Linked DNA regions of Homo sapiens: region 1 is linked to region 2. Evidence: promoter capture Hi-C in human tissues and cell types (Jung and others, 2019). All regions are on one chromosome and are shown on one strand. The core of a region is centred on a gene start or on the middle of the fragment in contact, and the rest is flanking DNA. Distances in the headings are between cores, read along the strand shown.

Region 1 (3,978 bases), core at 246-2,745, 540 kb after region 2:
ATGGCGTGAACCCGGGAAGCGGAGCTTGTAGTGAGCCGAGATTGCGCCACTGCAGTCCGCAGTCTGGCCTGGGCGACAGAGCGAGACTCCGTCTCAAAAAAAAAAAAAAAAAAAAAAAAAAAGAATATGAGATAGAAAAGAGACAGATATCCCAGAAGAGCTAGATATAAATTTAAGTCACTAGCGTTTGAGTAGTCTGTAGCTATGGTATTGAATATGAATTCTAAATGCTCTTCAAAGAATTAATATGTCAGTATGATCAATTCTTTGCCTTCTACTTTTAAACTTAACTTCCTCATAAAGCAACCTTTTTCGATTACCTACTCCACCCTGACTCTTTCCTATCACCTGCTCTACTCTAACTCATTCTGATCACCTGCTCCACCCTAACTCATTCCAATTACCTGCTATCTGCTCTGCCCTGACTCCGCCAAAGCACTCATCCCATCATCTTTAAATTAGCCAATTGGAATTTGTTTAGCCTGTGAGATCTAACCCTAGCCAATAGGGGAATGACACAGTAGCAGGGGCCACGTGCATCAGGGATAAGAATCCCTTCCTCTCCCTTGTCCAAATGTGCACCCACCATCGGTGAGTGTGCACCCTTCTACAGAAGTACCTTGCCTTGCTGATAATTAAAAGAAAGTTTTATATTCAAGTGCTATTTCTTTTGTGGCACTGAAACTTTATTTATAACAATGGGAATGCATAATATGTGCAGTTAAAGAGGATAACTATAACTATTATATACACCTTATACACCTTAATGATTGGCAAAAGACTGTGTCAAGCATGTCTTTTTGTTCTGATGCTTCAGTGTCTGGAGTCTTGTTGACTCTACAGAGGCTGCCCCTCCTAGGGCTAACCACTTCCTGGAGATAGGAGATAACTCACCTGACTGTGTACTTTGTATATGCAAACCAAGCCACTAAAAGGCCACAACCCTCCTAACAGCCTCCTTTATCGGGCTCTCACTGAGCTCTCACACTCCAGGCCACCATCCCACAGTCTCCATCACCCCAGGGCCTGCTGAAATTATTCAAACTAGCCAATCCTAAGCCTGCTTACTCAGTCTTGCTTTGCCTTTCCTGTAGAAACCATGATAAAGGCCTTTGCCCAGGAGAAAACCCTTCCTCCTAGGAACTGTAAGCAACAAGTCATCTTTTCAATGGTGAATGTCTCATGATCTGTTGGCCTCACCATACCTTAATAATAATAAAACCTGTATTTTAAACAGACATTTTAGATGCATGAAAATGTGTCTTGAAAATTCTAGTGTTATTAAATAATTATGTATCATACTATACCAAGTTGCATTTCTCTGACTCCATACACTTCCCAAGTCCCTATATTTTCTCTTACATAAAAACTCTGCTTTTAAACTCCTGTTAGTCCCATCTATTTTACCTGGATCCTCAAAACTGCTAGCTTATCATGATGAGCCATCATATGTTTATTTACTCTCACAAACATTCCTATCATTAATTCTGACAGTGCATTGACAAAGACATTGTTGATGAAAAGAGTCGAAATCTGTAAAATATCTGAAGAGATTTATTCTGAGCCAAATATAAGTGACCATGGCCCATGACATAGCCCTCAGGAAGTCCGTCCTGAGAACACGTGCCCAAGGTGGTCGGGGCACAGCTTGGTTTTATAGACGTTAGAGAGGCATGAGACATCACTCAAATACATTTAAGAAATGCATTGGTTTGGCCCAGAAAGGTGGAACAACTCAAAGTCGGGAGGCTTCCAGGCTATAGGTGAATTTAAATATTTTCTGGTTGACAATTGGTTGAGTTTGTCTAAAGATCTGGATAGACAAAAACGGTTAAGATAAAGATTAAGGTAAAATAAGATACAGATTGTGGAGACCAAAGTTCTTTTGAAGTCTTATAGTGGCTGCCCTTAGAGACAATAGGTGACAAAAGTTTCCTATTCAGATCTTAGTTAATCTCTTTAGGATTGGAAGGGTCTGGAAGAAGAAGATTTAGCTATGTTAATAGAGATTCTTTACAGAAGCAGATTTTCTCTCAGAAAGAACAGCTTTGCAGGGCCATTTCAAAATATGGCAAAGAAACATGTTTTGGGGTAAAATATTTTGATTTTCCTTTTTGTCTCATAATGTTATGGCCAGAGTCAGTCTGGAAAGTAAATCATGATATATATGGTTAAATAAAACCCATCTGATGAGAATTTCTGATTTATAGGGCATGACTCCCCAGACCCCTTAGATAGGAATTTGGGCAAGAAAAAAAAAATCAGAGTTTAGTCCTCAACATTAACCTAAACCATTTGGTGAGAACAGAAAGTGAAAGTTTCCCAAAGTTACCAGAGCTGGGTAATATTGTGTTTATCTGAATACAACAAAAAATTCCTTTAAATAGAGAAAGAAATCGGCTATATTATCTGTAAGTCCTATTTATGAATGTGGACAATTGTATTTGGATATATATGTATATACGTTGCTCTTACATATTTTCCAGAAAATAATTTTTTTAAAAGCCTGAAAAAAACACTATTGCTGAAATGTTTTTATCAACTGGCATTCAGAATTCTAAGTTTAATTTACTACCTTTATTTTATGAACATTTAAAACTTATAGAAAATCTGGTGTTTAATCTATATTAATTCTATTTTTAAACGATAAAACTATCCTTATAATGTTTTAAAAGTCTTGCTTAGTAAAATAATCATTACATAAAATGTGGGTCTTTTCTGAAAAGCATATTACAGTTATTTTTATTACAGTTTAATAATTTTGATTCAAGCTGAATGATATCTATATTTTAAACATATTAAAGCATTTTGTGTTAGAATATTTTTACTTTTGGCAAATGTAAAATGTTCATTTTTTTTCAAGCAGAATGACAAACTACTTGAGCACTGTTGAAACTAATTTTTGTCTTTCCTAAAATGGAGAGGTAAGTAAGATGGATTAATCACACACACACATAATCCTGTTCCAAGAAATACTGTAGAAATCAAAATTTATACAATAAAAAGTAATAGGTGAATTATGTCTTTGAAAAGACAGTAATCCCTTCTGCAGAAAAATTTTACTGAGTTATTGAATTGTTATAATAGCTTAAGTCTCATACTTATTCACTACTTAATGCATTGAATTTCAAACTGTGGGATTTTTAAAAAGCCAAATATATGTGTTTTGTAAAGTGATTTAAACTTTAAGTGAAAAAAATTATATCCATGAAAGCTTGTTAAATGTTAAGAATGTAAGTTATACTATTTCTGTAAGAATATGTAAGTTATACTATTTCTACAAGAATAATAATAGGATGTAAACCCTATTGGTTCAGCATTTATTCACTGACAGATTATAATGTGGGACCTCTTCTGGTATGAGAGATTCACAGTGAACAAGACAGAGGAGCTTTCTGTACTCACAGATCTCATATTCTATGGGATGGATGTTGAAAACATCAAGTCAAAAGTGTGCGGTAATTTGTGGAAGTCAAGAGGATCAATAAGAGAGACAAGTATAGGCAGGTATTATTTAAAGAATAGCTCGAAATTACTAAATTGATTATTTTGCATTTTTTGGTGACATACATTTTTTTCAAAGTATTCCACATAATTGAAAAAGTCACTGCACTAAAGCAGCACCTAGAAATGGAGAAGAGAGGCCAAGCTATGTGAATGTCTAAAAACCACTTGAGAATTGGTATCTAAAAAGAAAGTTTTGCTTACTAGAGTTTTACAGCATATAAGAGGTAACATGGATCATGATAAAGTCAAGTTACAATTAGGAGGACAATTAATATCTGAAGCAGCTGGCTGGTCACTTACGCGGGTTGTCTCAGCCTCCTGTCGCAGGCTCAGGAGATACTAATTTCTGCTAACCAACCCCCAAGAGACTAATGTAAGCCAGATACCTAATTTGACACGGGAGTTATAACTGTCAAGTAAACTAGTAAATTTGCATCAGCTAATAAATCACCTTGTTTCTTCAAAACAGGA
Region 2 (3,870 bases), core at 617-3,116:
TTCCCCTTATCATGAATGTAGTGAACAAAAAAGCCTGGTGAATCCTCAAAGCATAAAAACAGAGTTAGTGTCCAGGAAGCTTTCCCTCAAGCTGTTAACACAAGGGAGGGAGGCTGTTAGCATAAGTTATTCCCTTCACCACAGGGGCTAGGAGAAACCTTGTTAAGCCATGAATTTCAGTCCGAAGTGATCTGTGCTGAAAAATGGGATGAGCAGATTTTCTTGGGCAGATTCCAAGAGGTGTTTACATCCAGGGTTGCTCCCTCCCCTTGTCTCCCAGCTCCTCCCAGGATGGATGGTACAACCCCTGTTTACCCAGATGCGTTTTAATAATCGAAACACCCAAGCACCTGTTTTTTTTTTTTTTTTTTTTTTTTTTGCCACTAAGGAACTATCAAGTAAAGTGTCAAATATAGTACAGTAACACAAAGGGCGCGAATTAGGAGCGGGTGCAATATCTGGAGAAGCGACTGGGGAAGGAGAAAAGGAGAGGGGAAGGCGTCTTATTCAAGTATGATTTCTCTCGGGTCCTGGCATTGGCATAAAATGGCATCTGCCTCTTAGTAAACATGGCTAAAGCCCAGTCCAAAGGAATTTCCGCTGGCCGATTTAGGAATCAACAGAATAAGGTACCCTAGAGGTGCTCCAGTCACTCAGGGCAGGAGGCCTCACAGGCATGGGGTGTCGCCCCTTCCCTTTTTCCACGAAGCTCCTCCAGCCTACCCCTCCACTGCTCCGCGCCTTCATTCTATTTCCCCCTCTCACTTTGGATTTGAAAACTGGGCTTACAGGAGATGCAGCTGGCGACACGCGGGGTGTGACTGGACGGAGGAATCCAGAGGGCAGCTGAGGAGGGCGGAGAAAGGTCCCTAGGCAGCGCCACCAAGCAAGGGGCAGACAAGGAAGCTGTGGGGGGTCCCGGGAGAAAGCTGGGGCGGGACCGCGGGAAGGGAGTCTCACCTCGCGCACTCACCTGCTGCTGCCGCCCGAAAGCTGCGAACCGTGTTGCCTTCGCGCAGGAGCCGAGGGCGCCAGGGCTGCGAGCCTCCCTCCAGGGAGCCCGGTGTCCGGGCCGCCTGGACCGTGCTGTACCTGTCATAGAGCCGCAGCATGTGTTCAGAGACCTTGTCTTGCGGCTGCAGCTCGGAGTCCGGGCCACCACCTGCCGTGCGGTCACCTGGCACAGCTTTGCGGAGCTCCGGGAAAGGTGGCTTCGGTCTCTCTCCCTGCGCCAGGCTCACGCAGAAGCAGCCCAGCCACAGAAAGAGCAGCCTGCTCGCCCCAGCCATGGCTAGGTACCCGCGCGGCGCGTCGGCTCCCGGCGTCGCTGCGGGACACTCCGAAGGCGCAAGGAGCCGGCGGCGGAGCCGAGGGTTGAACTCCAAACCAGCTGGGGCGAGGGCGCACGGAGCCCGGGACGCGGCCGGGTGCAGCGAGATAGCGGCCAGCCCCACTTGCTGCGCTGACCCAGCGCAGCCTGACAGGTGGGCTCTTCCCCAGCAGCTGCGCGGACCTCACCCGCGCAGGGCGCTGCGGGCGCCGTCTCCACTCCAACGCTGAGAAAGAGCTGTAGGTCGCGGCGTGTGTGGCCCGGGTGTTTTCAAGATCTGTCTGTACCTTCCCTCCTCGCTTTATTTTTGGGAACACCCGGCCAAACTGGCCGCGCGAGGGACTAGGACTAGCTCTGTTTTGGGCGCCAGGTCGGAGCCGGGGCTGTGCGCAGCGGTCCGGAGGGCGCTCGATTGCCTTTTCCAGGGATTGGAGCAGCTGCGGCGCGGCTGGTCCGAGTTTTTTAGTGTACGTGTGTGTGTGTGTGCGCGCGCGCGCGCGCGTGTGTGCGTGTGTGTGTGTGTATGAGAGAGAGAGACTTAGTTCTTTCGCTCTCTAGCTGATCTGTAGAGTCCTCAGCCAATCTCTCCCACTCCCTCGTCCTCGCCCTCTTAGCTTGCACCAGGCTGGGATAGAAGCAAGGGAGGGGGGGAGTAACCAGAGAACTGGCAGCGGGAGGGAGAGAAGAGGAAGTAGGGGTGGGGATGGCTGGGGAGAGGAAGGGAAAAGGAGATTCAGGACTAAAGAAATGGTAGGAGGGACGGTTTTTTTGTTTTGTTTTGTTTTGTTTTTGTTTGTTTTTTTTTTTAATTCTCCAAGAACAGTGGCTGTGTGGTGGCTAGCAAGAGGGCAGAGGAAAACAGAACTTCTTCCTGGCTTTTCGGTCTTATGATTCCAAACAAAGTCACAACGTGAACACCATTCTCGCTTACTTTCCCGAGCCTCTTCTGACGGACACTGCGGGCCCCTGCACCTGCAGCCCGTCATCATAGCTTCCTGTCTTTCTGAGAGCATACCCATCATAACGCCCCTCTCTCCCGCATCATCTTCTCTCGAGGTGAGAAATATGTGCGAGTCAATATCATGTTAAAAACAAATAAGAAAACAAGCAAACACACCACAACCCCACCTACAGCTTCCCCCAAAGGTTTCCTTCCTACAGGTCCCCAAAAGGTTTCCCAGCAGGATGGTGCAGTGGTGGCTAAAAACAAGGGTGTGTGGAAGATCCCGGAGTCCGGAACAGAATGTAAGAGTCGCTAGCTTTGTCTTCCTAATTCTCTCTTGTCATGGCTGTACAATGGAGATTAAACTATGAGCAGCCTGGCGCAGTGGCTCAGGCCTGTAATCCCAGCACTTTGGAAGGCCAAAGCGGGTGGATCACGAAGTCAGGAGTTCGAGACCAGCCTTGCCAACATGGTGAAACCTCATCTCTACTAAAAATACAAAAATTAGCTGGGCGTGGTGGTGCGCACATGTAATCCCAGCTACTGGGAAGGCTGCGGCAAGAGAATGGCTTGAATCCAGGAGATGGAGGTTGCAGTGAGCCGAGATTGTGCCACTGCACTCCAGACTGGGTGACAGAGCAAACTTTGTCTCAAAACAAAAAACAAACAAACAAACAAAAAACAACTGTGAGCTAACATTTTTCTCCACACTTATGCTCTAGACATGCCTTGTTATTTATATTTCAAGTATATTACCAAATAATTTTCACAGCAAAACCCATTTTACAGATGAGGAAACTGAGGCAAAAGGATACATAGTAAGTGACAGAACTGAGATCCAAATTCAGGGAGTCTGATTTCTGGCCTCAGGCCAGATAACCACACTATTAATAGTGAAATTAGCATTTAAACTGAAGTTTCAGTGTGCAATCCATGTAAATGTTTAGTGCAGTTCTTGACCATATGCAGTAAAATCTTCAGTCAATGTCTATTGCATTTATCCCTCTTCCCCTCTGTAGGGCAATGGAGTTGATCGAAAAGAAGATAGGCTCCTGGAGTCACACCATGTCTCCAGATCTGAGTTTCTTCTTTGATGGTGAATAACAACACATTCCTTTTAGAGTTTTGTTTGGATGACATTAGAAAGCAGTGCTAAAGTGACTGGCGCACTCACTAGCCTTTAATAGGGGCTCAATCCCTTTCTATCCTAAATTTATCCCAAATCCAGACTACATTCTCCCCACTCAGTCACTTCTTAACCCACTGCGGTTTGGATTTTGCCCTTAGCCACCCCGGGAACTGTTCTGCAGATAATAACACATATTTCAAGAGTAGTTGTGAGGATTAAATGAGATCATGTGTTTGATCTTTGCTTGGCATAAAGAACATAATAGCTTTTGTGATTAATAATGAAGATCTAATTGCAAAATTCAATAGGCCCTGGAAACTCTCTCTTTGATTTTTTCCCTGTGAACTATTGGTTGTTTTTCCATTCCTTTCTGCCCTTTCTCAGTTCTGTCAGCTGCCTCCTCTTTCTAGGCCTGCCTCAAGCGTTCCTGACATCTTTACTCTGCCCTTGGAAAATGCCAAATCCAGA

Evidence for each region. The method cuts DNA at HindIII sites, captures the fragments that hold promoters and counts their contacts. A contact is called where the count stands out against the background at its distance.
Region 1: a contact is called between a fragment that was not itself captured here and the fragment with the promoter of BMP3 in region 2, in 2 of the 25 tissues and cell types used here (H1 embryonic stem cells and spleen).

Annotation. Positions count from the first base shown.
Region 1 is chr4:80,489,904-80,493,881 of GRCh38, reverse strand. All of the region lies in intron 2 of CFAP299 (cilia and flagella associated protein 299), which reads right to left. LOC105377305 (a long non-coding RNA gene) reads left to right here and starts at 2,332. Exons shown (of 3, transcript XR_938931.3): 1 at 2,332-2,411; 2 at 2,867-2,924. The HindIII fragment of the contact is 7,546 bases long and covers 1-3,978 here.
Region 2 is chr4:81,028,704-81,032,573 of GRCh38, reverse strand. It overlaps BMP3 (bone morphogenetic protein 3), which reads right to left and starts at 1,866. Exons shown (of 3, transcript NM_001201.5): 1 at 974-1,866. The coding sequence starts at 1,289. The HindIII fragment of the contact is 7,363 bases long and covers 1-3,870 here.